Regions from separate parts of the Homo sapiens genome. Here regions 1 and 3 are each linked to region 2. The links are contacts of gene promoters, found by promoter capture Hi-C in blood cells and fetal thymus (Javierre and others, 2016). All regions are on one chromosome and are shown on one strand. Each heading gives the region's core, a stretch centred on a gene start or on the middle of the fragment in contact. The rest is flanking DNA. Distances are from core to core; before and after follow the strand shown. Region 1 overlaps FAM110A (family with sequence similarity 110 member A). Region 2 holds the start of RAD21L1 (RAD21 cohesin complex component like 1). Region 3 holds the start of SIRPB2 (signal regulatory protein beta 2).

Region 1 (3,872 bases), core at 210-2,709, 380 kb after region 2:
TGGGGCACCAGAGAGGCCACCCCCGCTTTCGCCCTTTGTAGGCCCAGCTCTAGCCCTAGCTGCTCCACTAGCCAAGGTGGGGTGTCCTAGTAGGTAACTGACCTGGAGGGAGACTGGAAGAAGCTGAGGCCTCGAAGCCCAGTGCCAGCCCCTTCCTTCCCCTCTCCCCAGGTATTGGAATATAGCATGAAGGGCCCAGAATGCACCAGTGCCCCAACCCAAGGAGGACTGTGCTGCCTAACTCTCCCACTGAGGCCCAGAGGGAAACTGGCTTGTCCAAGATCGCCAGGGAGGCCACTCATTTTGTGCCGTCCACCCCAAGTCTCTCTTCCTCCAAAACTCCCACTTCTCATCCTCACTCTATGGTCTGTGTGACCTCAAGTTCAGGATTTGCCCTCTCCGAGCTTCCTGCCCCCTTGGGAACTGGGCAGGGCTTGGATGGAACACTCCTGGTTGGGGAGAGTCTATGCACCCCATCGGCCTTTCCCCTGCAGGCTCCCTTTCTGGTGCAGGGGAAAGACCCCATTCCTACTCCCAGCTCTATTCCAGCTCACTCATGGCTGGATCTCAGTTTCCTCCTCGATGAGGCAGGCCTGCTAGCCTTCCAGGAGAGTTATGAGAACCCACCACGGGGACATGTCTCCAGCCAGGCCAGCCGCTATCATCATGCCCCACCACTAGACCTCGGGGTGAACAATTACTGTTTTGATGGCCCCACCCCAAGACTTCTCTCACCCTTTCTCTTGTGAACACAGAAGAGTCTGAAGGCCCAGCCCTTGAGAAACAAGCATTTGTGTTTATTAACCAAGGAGAGGGAAGTCAAAGCAATGCAGACTCCTAACCAGTCCCTCCTATAGTCTGCCCACCTAGGCCAGCTGCCAAGGACTAGGAAGAGCAGTGGATAGGCCCCTCCCCACTGCCCCGACCCCAGGGTGAGTTCTGCTGGGTAAGGAAGAGGAAGTCAGCAAAGGACAGAGGCCAAGGAAGGAAGGAGGAAACAGAGCCGCTGGGGAGACAGGATTGAGGAGATCCCTTGGCCCCTCACTCACAGTGGGGAGGGCAAAGCACCGCAAATGCAGCCCCACAAGAGGAACTAAGCAGGAGTACACTCATGTCAAAAACCTTGTATTGGGGGAGGGGAGGAGGGGGTTCTCAGGTGTCCAAAGCCAAGAACAAAACCCTTGGAGAGTCAGTCCTTGCCCAACAATGCTGGTCCAGCCTCTAAGCCTTTGCCTCCATACCAAGTTCACAACAGGGTGGAGCCTCTGACACGGCCGTCTAGAGAATGGATGCAAGAGAGGTCCAGGGACCACTTGCCTCTGTAAGATCCGTCCTGTGGCGAATTCCAGGCCCAGTGGCGCCTAGCCTTCAGCTGCTGGGCTCTCCCGAGCCTGCCTTAGCCCATACAACCACTTGATCACGCGGGCATTGCGCTCCACCACCGACACGCCATAGGGAACGCGCTCCCGGGCCCGCTCCTCAACAGTCACCGAGCTGCGGCGGGAGCAGCCCCCTTCAGAGCTGCCCGGCCCAGCACTGGGCCCTGCCAGGGACACGATATCCGAGCTGGCCCGTGCCAGGTGGGCCACACCCAACCCTCTCGCCTCCTCCGGGTCCAGGCCGCAGAAGTTAAAAAAGCGCTCGAGATCAGCGGCTGCCCTAGAAAAGCGCTCGCTCAAGTCCGACTTGGAGCGTTGCAAACCCGGCGGCCGGGCTGGGCTGGAGGCGGCGGCAGGGCCGGGTGATGGGCAGGGCCGGGCAGGCGAGGCGGGCAGGGGGCGGACGTCCACCCGGCGGACCGCAGAGGTACTGGGCGGCGGTCGCGGAGGGGTGGCTGGGGGAGGACGGCCGGCTCCCTCGGCCCGTCCAGGAGTGCGGCTGGCCTCGGCAGGGGACACGGGGCTGTCACACAAGTCGATGAGGCTGCTGAGGATGTCCAGGTCCAGCTGGGGCCGTCGGCAGGGGCCAGGCAGGGCTCGGCGGCTGGGCGTGAGCACTGTGCGGCGAGTCTCAGGGCTAAAGAGCGGCTGTTTGGACAGCAGGGGCTGCACAGGCTCCTGGCGGGTGTTGGCCACGTGCAGGCTCTTGACGTACTTGGCCTTGTCGGCCTCCAGGCGCTCCACAGCGCTCGGTTTCCGGGCTCCACCATCTGCCGGCCCCCGTAGCAGGTAGCCAGGGACCCTGGTCCGCAGGCGGCAAGGTAGGGCGGGGGCGGACGGGGCTCCGGGGCTCAGCGTGTGCACAGGCATGGCTGCTGCATATCCCGAGGGCTTTAGTCTGCGGAGACCGGAGAGATGAGGAGCCAGAGATCCGGGCAGAAAGTAGGCAGCTGGACACCGGCCACTGCTGCAGGGAAGGAGAGAGAAAAAAAAAAAAAAGCCGAGCGCGCTCAGACAAAGAGGCTCAGCCGCGGCTGAGAGGATAAGACGCCCTCCCTATTATAAGGTAGAGACCACGCCCCTCCACAAGGAGCCAATCAGCAGGCACAAGGCAGCAGCTGCGGGGCCTCAGGCCCCACCCACACCCCCTCCCTCCTGCCCCGGGAGAACCAGGCCCAGCTGAGACCAAGAGAGGAAAAAAGGTGCTAGAGAAAAAAGACCTGGGCGACCTGGGCAACCTGAGCAGAAAAGACAGGGCAAGGCACGCGCTAAAGGGAGCAAGGGAGGCTCCAGGCTCTGTGCTACGCACCAGTCAACTCAACCTCAGGTCCTCTCAACAGCCCCGTTTTTTGGATGGAGAAACTGAAGCCCAGAGAGGCAAACAACTTGCTTAAGTTAACCCAGCGAGTAGGTGGCTCTGCCCCTGACCACCAAAAAGGAAGGTGCTGGCACCGGGGCGTAGGGTTAAATGACCAAGAAAAAGGGCTCCAGCCCCACACCCCACCTGGACTCCCCACAGGGAGCCTGGTACCACCTCTACCCCTCACCCATCCAGGCAGGAAGCTGCCCTGTGCCATCCACCCGCCTAGACATGCCAGGCCCCAGGCAAAGGGCAGAGCTTATAGGGAAGGAGCAAAGAAAATCTCCACCCGCGCCCCAGTGGAGTCCAGACATCCGTCAGCTTCCTGCATGGAACTGGATGGCCCACGGTGATCCACAAATGCCTGTCACGTGGAAACATCAGCCCTGAGCTATGCTGTGCTGAGAGAAGCTGGAAATGTCCAAAATCACACAGCCCTGCATGGAGGCATCCGGCAGACCCTCGATCTGCCTGCAGCCATGGAATGGGTACTCACCTGGGAGGAGGGCATACACCTGGATGCACAAGTGTCTACGTGGTCACCCAAGTGTCAGGACCTGATGCCCCAGACATCAAGCCAACCCTGACCCTGTTTCCAAGGAAGGGCCAAGCCCACAGAGTCACCCCACAAGGCCCCTTGGAGATGGGACAGAAGAAAACCCACATACCAAGTCCCAAACATTCTCATCTGTAAAATGGAGGGGGCGGGTACTTAATCTGGGTGTTCCCCAAGAAGGCTTACAGTTCAAGCCATCTAGACCCGTGCTGTCCAGCTCAATAGCCAGCAGCCACATGTGGCTATTCAACCTTAACTTTAAATTTAAATGAAATAAAAACATAAAATTCAGTTCCTGAGCTACACTAGTGGCATTTCAAGTTCTCAATAGCCACATGTGGCCAGTTGCCACTGTGTTTGGCAGCACAGAGTACAGCATTTCCATCCATGGTAGGAAGCTACATTGGACAGCCCCACCTAGACATCCAAAAATCCAGAAGGGAGTGAGTCTGGATTGGGGTGGGGAGGCAGGGATCTCTGCTGGGTGCCATCCTCCCTATAACCTCCCACAAGCCTGTGGGTCGTTGTGCAGATGGAGAAACTGAGACTCAGAGAAGTGGCTTTCCCAGGTCCCAGA
Region 2 (3,488 bases), core at 458-2,957:
CGATAAAAGAAAACCTTCACTTAAAACAAAGAGAAGGAATTAATGCACATTTTTACAAACTGTACTATTCTTGGTAACACCATAGGGCTCTATCACTAAGCTAAAGATGAGAAGGGATGTTATAGCACTTTGGTTGACTTCTAGGGAAGAATCAAATTATTGCTTACATATAAGTAATCTTACACTGCCACTATGGAAGCTTCTTTTTGCTTCTTTTCTACTTAAGATACTGATAAAAGAGAAAACTGAGCCAAGACGAACACAAAGTCGGCGAAAGAATTAAAAACTTAGGTAAACTTCCATCAGTGTCTATTTGTACCGCAAGAATTCAATCATTATGCCCCAACTAAAGGTGACGCAATCCGCCAAACCATGTTCCCCTACGGGGCAGCTGGAGATTTTAATGCATATGGCTTGTACCTTGCGCTGGTTCCACTACTTTCCTTTTTAGTCTGTGTGTTTCGCTCTCTCGGAATAAATTCCTATTTATCTTTTTAAATGGCTCCCAGTGGTGTGAGGTACTTTTAAAATGTACTTTTTGGCCTGGCGCAGTGGCTCACGCCTGTAATCCCAGCACTGTGGGAGGCTGAGGCGGGCGGATCACTTTGATGCCAGGAACTGGAGACCAGCCTGGCCAACATGGTGAAACCCCGTCTCTACTAAAAGTACAAAAAGTAGCCAGGCACGGTGGCGGGCGTCTGTAATCCCAGCTACTTGGGAGGCTGAGGCAGGAGAATCGCTCGAACCCGGGAGACGGAGGCTGCAATGAGCCGCGATCGCCCTACTGCACTCCAGCCTGGGCGACAGAGGGCGACTCCGTCTCAAAAAAATCAAATGTACTTTTTAAGTGATGGACTTCTTAAAAGAGAAAACAAACAAAGAAAAAACCCAAACCCTGAGATTTGCTATTCCTGAGACATTGATTTTCCCGAGCACATATTACCTAACCTTTTTCCCCTCCCCACAAAATACGCACACAAACTCCCCCCGCACCCTCCCGCCCCACGTCCCGGAGGCTTTTTCAGTCTCCAGATTGAACTGACTTCGTGCAACGTGAAGCCACCGGGATGGGGCCACTCCGTGGAAACCGGCCCGCAAAGGGCAGGGTGGCGGCGGTGGCGGGGAGGGAGCGAAGGGAGGGAGGAAGGGGTCGGAAGGGGACCGGGCGGGGACCCTGGGAGAGGGGCGTGGGGAGAGAGGGCTGAGCCGGGCAGGGCGAGACCCTTCCGGGCGTGAGGGAGGGGAAAGCAAAGTGCAGGGGCTGGGAAGAGCTGACGGCCACGCTCAGGGGCAGGGGGACGCCAAAGGCTCCTCCACAGACGACTCCTCAGAGTTCCGGGCCGGGTGCTCACAGAGGGAAACTGAGGCCACAGCGCCCATTTTCTTCCGCGTGCGGGCGAGGAGACCCCGGGTCGCGCCTCCAGCCCCAGCTGGGCTGCGGGCGACGACCTTTCTTCCTCAGGCGGGACCCTCCGGGCTTGGCGCCGCGAGCTAACACGGCGTGAGGCGCCGGCGCCGGGTGCGTGTGGGAATGTGGGTGGCGGCGGCCCCCATCTCCCAGCCCGCCTACAGCACTCGGGGTCCGGCCGGCCTCTCAGGCTGCGCCCTACTTTCAAAGCCTCGTCTGAGGTGTGGCGTGCCAGAGCAGGGGCTGCGAGGAGTCGCCAAGTCAGCTTGGCCGGGTTCTTGGCGCCGCTGGGCGTCTGCAATGCGCGGCAGGCGCGGGGCGGGGAGGGGCGGGGCGTGGAGAAGGCGGGGCAGTGGGCGAGGGCGGGGCGTGCAGGGGACGGGGCGGAGCAGTGGGCGAGGGGCGGGGCGTGCAGGGGACGGGGCGGGGCAGTGGGCGAGGGCGGGGCGTGCAGGGGACGGGGCGGGGCGTGCAGGAGACGGGGCGGGGCAGTGGGCGATGGACGGGACTGACAGGGGATGGGGCGGGGCAGTGGGCGAGGGGCGGGGCGTGCAGGGGATGGAGAGGGACGGGCAGGACATGGGGAGGGGCGTGGAGGGGTATGGACGGGCGGGGCGGGGCAGTGGCTGAGGGACCGGGGGCAGGGGGCGGGGAAGGGCGGGCCAGCGACCGAGGGACTGGGCGCGGCGGCGGCGGCGGCGGCTGGGGGTACGGACAGAGTAGGGCAGTGCGCTAGAGTGGAGAGGACCGGGACTGAGAGGGACGAGGGCGCAGGGCGTTGGTGGGGACAGTGGACGGGGCAGGAGGGATAGAGTCAGACAGTGAGCAAGGCGCACCGGTCCTAGTGCGCAGTCTCCGGCTTTGTCCTGGCGCTCGGACCTGAGACACCTGAGCAGGGGCATGACAGGGATGGGGCCTGGGCCCCATAGTCCTGTTGTGAAAGGTGATCTTTCTGGCTGATCTCTGAACATCCCTATGATGCAGTCCAGTCTCTTCTCTTCCACTTATAGCTGGAGGTCACTGGAGAAATTCTTTAATCCCTTGAACCTCAGATTTTCTCATCTGTAAAGTGAAAATAATAAAAGTACTCGCGCCGTAGGATATTGTAAGAAATAAATAAAATGAACCATGAAAAGAGCCAAGCAATAATAAGTGCTCTACAAATATTAGCTATTATTATTATTGTTATTATTAAAAAGATTATTCACATTGACCTGCCCTTTGGGGACAGCAAATATTTTCCAGCCTGGAATATCACAGTTCTCAGTAGTCAAGGCCAAGTGCTAGAACCTGAGAAAAATCCTGCAAGAGCATCAGGATGCAAGGCTGGTTTCCTCTCTTGAGTTTGATAGTAAATACTAATAAATCTTGGAGCGGCAATGGCATCCAATATAAGGTTATTGATAAGGTTCAGGCTCCTGGCTGGGCATTTTCATGGGTTGTCTCATTGACTCTTCAAACAATCTCACAAAAGTAGTTACTGGTTTTCCCCTTTTGAATAAGGAAAGGGCTGGAGAAAAAATAGCAACCTGTCTAGGGTCACGTGGTTGGGAATTGTAGAGACAGGATTCAAATTGAATTCAAATTGAAGTTTAGCTCCCAATTTCCGACCTCAGGAAATGATGTCACGGCAACCATTCAAGAGGATGTCTGGGAGACACCCTTGGTGCCACCCTCATGTCTACTTCAATGCCAGCCCATCAGCAAGCCCATCACTCCACCTTCAAATATGACTTTCATCTACCCCTTCTCAAGATCTCCACCGACTCCACCCTAGTCTAAGCCACCTCTCTCCTGGAAAAGCTCCAACCTCCTGAGCGGTCTCCTTCCTGTCACTCACCTCCCTAAAGCCCATTCTCTACACCAGGGGTTCCCAACCCCGGGTGGGAACAGGGCCGCACAGCAGGAGGTGAACAGTGGACGAGGGAGCCTCACCGCCTGAGCTTCGCCTCCTGTCACATCAGCCGCGCATTAGATTCTCACAGGAGCGCGAAACCTATTGGGAACTGCACATGCGAGGGATCTAGGTTGCCCGCTCCTCACGAGAATCTCATGACCCCCCGCCCACTCGGCTCGTGGA
Region 3 (3,653 bases), core at 587-3,086, 270 kb before region 2:
TAGAACCTCCAAAAAAAGAGGAGAGCATAGAAAAAGTGGAGATAGATGCTGATTGCAAAGACACCAGTGTTGCTCTTTTTAAGACTGGTATTTACTTGATTGCTGCTAAGGTTGAACGCTTTCCCTGTGCTTGCTTAGTATGTTTTCCATTTTATGGTAAACAATCAAAAAGCTGTTGTTTTAACAAAGTTCCATTTTTGTAGTGGAAGGAAAAAAAGCTTTATGGGTAGACTTGTGTTCTATATATACCTCGGGTGCTCTTGTTGAGGATAACTTAACTCAGGCTAGTAATAGACACTATAGTTCATGTGATACCCAAGCACACTGACCAGGAGGAATGCCACTGTTCCTAGTTACTGAGCAATTATCGCAAGCCAGTGCTTCACGCGCAATCGCATTTCATGTGTTTTATAGATGACGTGACAGATATAACATTTTTAACTATTTCCTTTTGCATTTCTCCACCTCCCAGCAGTTTAATTCCTTCCCTGGAAGCTTTTTTCCTATTCTAAGCTGGAGTGTGAGACTTGCTGTCTTGAGGAAGGGGCAGGAGGGATTCCATCTAGAACAAAGAAGGCCAGCTGTTAGGAAGAAGACTGAGATTAGGAAAGTCCCTACCAGAAGGAAAAGAAGGGGAACTCCTCCCCTTATGACTTGGTGAGGAAGTAAGAAAAAGAGGGAGAAGACAGGGGTTGAGATGCTAGAGTCCTGCCAACCCCACAGTCCTGAGGTCCAAATGCTGGGGTGGGGTGGGAATGGAGTTTAGGGATTCCTACAGCATAAGGGATCATGGCCTGTCTTCCCAGGGTGTTCATAGTCCACGACATCACAAAGAAACCATATTCAACCTGGCTTCTGAGCACTAGATCAGAAACAGTAAAGGAAATGAATGTCTTCAAAAACTGGTGACTGTGGTTAACCCTAAGGAAAGTAATGTCTGGGAGCCCTATAAATGAGACACTGAGACCTCTGAATTTTGTACCTGTAGATGCCCATGGCAGATAAATCACAAAAATATCCACAATTCTATACCCCCTCTTTGTATCCACACCTTTTGCAATTAGGCTTTGCAGTTCCCTAACAAGAGGCAAAGTCTATTTTCCATTCCTTGAATCTTGTCTGGTCTTGTAACTTGATGTGGCCAAAAGAATATGGCAGAAGTTTCCTTGTACCTTGCACTGTCTCTCAAAACTGCCCCTTTCATGAGAACAAGACTAAGTTAGTGTCCTGGAAGATGAGAGACCACATAGAGGACAGCTGAGGTACCTGGGTTAACAATCAGTCAACCGCAGTAACAAAGCCACCTAGCCAACCTGCAGCTGACCTCAAGTGCATGAACATTCCCAGCCAAAATCTGCTGAGATGAGAAGACCGAACCACCAAATGGAGCCCTGACTGAATTGTCAACCCACAAAATAGTAAATTAACTGAACATTTAGTTTTTAAGCTTCTAAATTTTGGGGTGCTTTGTTATGCAGCAATAGCTAACCAATACAATGCCTTGCCTATTAAAATAAAATTATTTGTAAGTAAAACTTTAGAAAAAAACAATAGCTGAGAAAGAAATCTGCATAGATGAGCAGGTGATTCAGAAATTCCCGTGTAAGAATGACATGGAAAGTACTGAGGGTCTGGTGGAATCATCTAGGCTTGTGGCCCTTTCAAAGAAGTTTCACTATATAGATCTCATTGACAGGAGAACAAGTAGAGGGAGTAATGGAATTGAGCAGGGGTATCAATGCAAGGCCTCAAAAGTCTAGAAAAGACCAGTCACAGACCCAGTGCAAAGTCCTTGGGGACCAGGCCAGACTAACCTCCTCATAGTAGACACCAGACCTCTGGGACCCAGGGGACATACTCAGATCCAAGGCCTGCCACCCTGTTGCTGGAGAATCTTCAGCTTCCTCTGCACCCAGAACCTTCTGAAGCATGAGGGAGGAAGTGAAATAATGAAAGGCTGAGTTGTTCTTGTACTTTTCCCTGAGTTAATTAAAAGACTGAGTTAACCTAAAAGACAATGGTGAAAGCCTATAGAGTGCTTACTCCACCCCACACATGCTACCACATTTTTATTCCTGTTTTACAGATGAGGAAACCGAGGCATAAAGTGGTCAAATGATTGTCCTAAGGTCACACAGCCAGACTGAGTAAAGCCAAGATTTGAACCCAGACAGTGTGGCTAAAGAGATTGCCTGGATTGCATGAATTGGCAAGATTAAGCTTTTCCTTCTTGATAGCCAGCACCAGGAGGCTCCTGAGGAAGTTCAGATCACTTACAGGAAACAAAGATGCCACAAACGCAAATGTTTGCACAATCTGAGTATGTTTCACTTGGACCCCAGGAAACAGAGGCTGAGAGAGTTACACATGATTATACTTTTAGGAATTAGGCCTGTACCCTCCCTGCAGTGCTAAAAGGAGGCCCCCATGGGGCTTGCTTTATAATAAATCCTTCTTCTTAAGCAATGTCACCTCCTCTACTTTCTGCACATCATGAATAATAATGGTTAATATGTTTAGCATTTACATTGTTCTGTGCCCTCACATTATTTCTCATAATCTTACCAAAACTGTTCTGAGGAGGGAACTGCCGTTGTTCCTACGCTGCAGATGAAGAAACAAAAGGCTCAGAAATGGGAAGTGACTTTGAAATCTTGCACAGCCAAGAAGAGGAAGATCCAATGTTTGCTCCAAATTCCACCCGATTCTGGAGTGCGTCCTATGACCTCAGTGCCCACCTCCCTCCCGGGCACCTAGGATGGAGCCTATGGCAAGGTTTTAGCACAGTGACTACAGGAATCACAGCCCAGACACAAAAGCAGGAAACCCTTTGACCGGGCTCCTTCCTATTGCACCAACAGCCTTGTGTTGCTGCAATGAAAACACTTCCCCAAGCAGCTGTGGCCAAGAGACGCAGAAACTGCCTTGTCCACGGGCCCCGCCTCAGACTCCAACACTCACAAGAGAGCAGAGGAGCCCCAAGTCTTGGGGACCACAGAAGATGCCATGTGCTCCACGATGTCGGCCCCCACCTGCCTGGCCCACTTGCCTCCCTGCTTCCTGCTGCTGGCACTGGTCCTTGTCCCCTCAGGTAAGTGGGGTCTAGGATAGAACAGGGTCCACCCCCGGCTGGTCAGTCCCTAGAGGGGCACTAAGTGCTCTGCCATGCCTGAAGAAGCTTGACCCCATGAAGATAGAGTAAAGAGGGGTCCACTGAAAATTTGCCTGACTCCGGCAGAGGGCACCCCCAGTGTCCCAAGAAGCAGCGTAGTGAAGTGATAAGCTCCCAGGCTCTGCGCTCACACCCACTGGCTTCCAGCTTGATTGCTCCTATGCCCACGTCAGATGCTGCAGCTCTTTTAGCCCCAGGAGCCTCTTCTACAAAACAGGGACGCTCATGGGACCTTTCTCTAGGGCTACTGTGAGTATTAAATAGAAAAGTGGTGAGGCTCAGCCCTGGGCCGGCTGCATAGTTTATGAGACCCACTGCAAAATGAAAACTGCGGTCTTTTGTTCAAAAAGTATTGAGCAACACAGCAGAGCAGTAAACCAAGCATGGGCTCCTTCTAAGCACAGGGCCCTGTGCGACTACATAGATGGCACAGCCATGAACCAGCCCTGGCTCAGCTTAAGACGCAGTAGGCTCAAACCTC

Evidence for each region. Contacts are between HindIII fragments. The CHiCAGO score rates a contact against its expected background, and 5 or more counts as called.
Region 1: a contact is called between a fragment that was not itself captured here and the fragment with the promoter of RAD21L1 in region 2, in 1 of 17 cell types (naive CD4 T cells). The highest score is 5.5, in naive CD4 T cells.
Region 3: a fragment that was not itself captured here is called in contact with the fragment with the promoter of RAD21L1 in region 2 in 1 of 17 cell types (endothelial precursors); the score reaches 7.3 in endothelial precursors.

Annotation. Positions count from the first base shown.
Region 1 is chr20:843,182-847,053 of GRCh38, reverse strand. FAM110A (family with sequence similarity 110 member A) reads right to left here. Exons shown (of 2, transcript NM_001042353.3): 2 at 777-2,346. The coding sequence starts at 2,249. The coding sequence ends at 1,362. Among named protein-coding and RNA genes, the nearest start is that of FAM110A, 11 kb to the right of the region's middle. RefSeq lists enhancers at 451-510, 1,739-2,552, 2,658-2,757. The HindIII fragment of the contact is 8,097 bases long and covers 1-3,872 here.
Region 2 is chr20:1,224,263-1,227,750 of GRCh38, reverse strand. It overlaps RAD21L1 (RAD21 cohesin complex component like 1), which reads right to left and starts at 1,707. Exons shown (of 14, transcript NM_001384355.1): 1 at 1,611-1,707. RefSeq lists a silencer at 1,446-1,495. The HindIII fragment of the contact is 7,037 bases long and covers 202-3,488 here.
Region 3 is chr20:1,490,713-1,494,365 of GRCh38, reverse strand. SIRPB2 (signal regulatory protein beta 2) reads left to right here and starts at 2,946. Exons shown (of 5, transcript NM_001122962.2): 1 at 2,946-3,091. The coding sequence starts at 3,007. The HindIII fragment of the contact is 773 bases long and covers 1,450-2,222 here.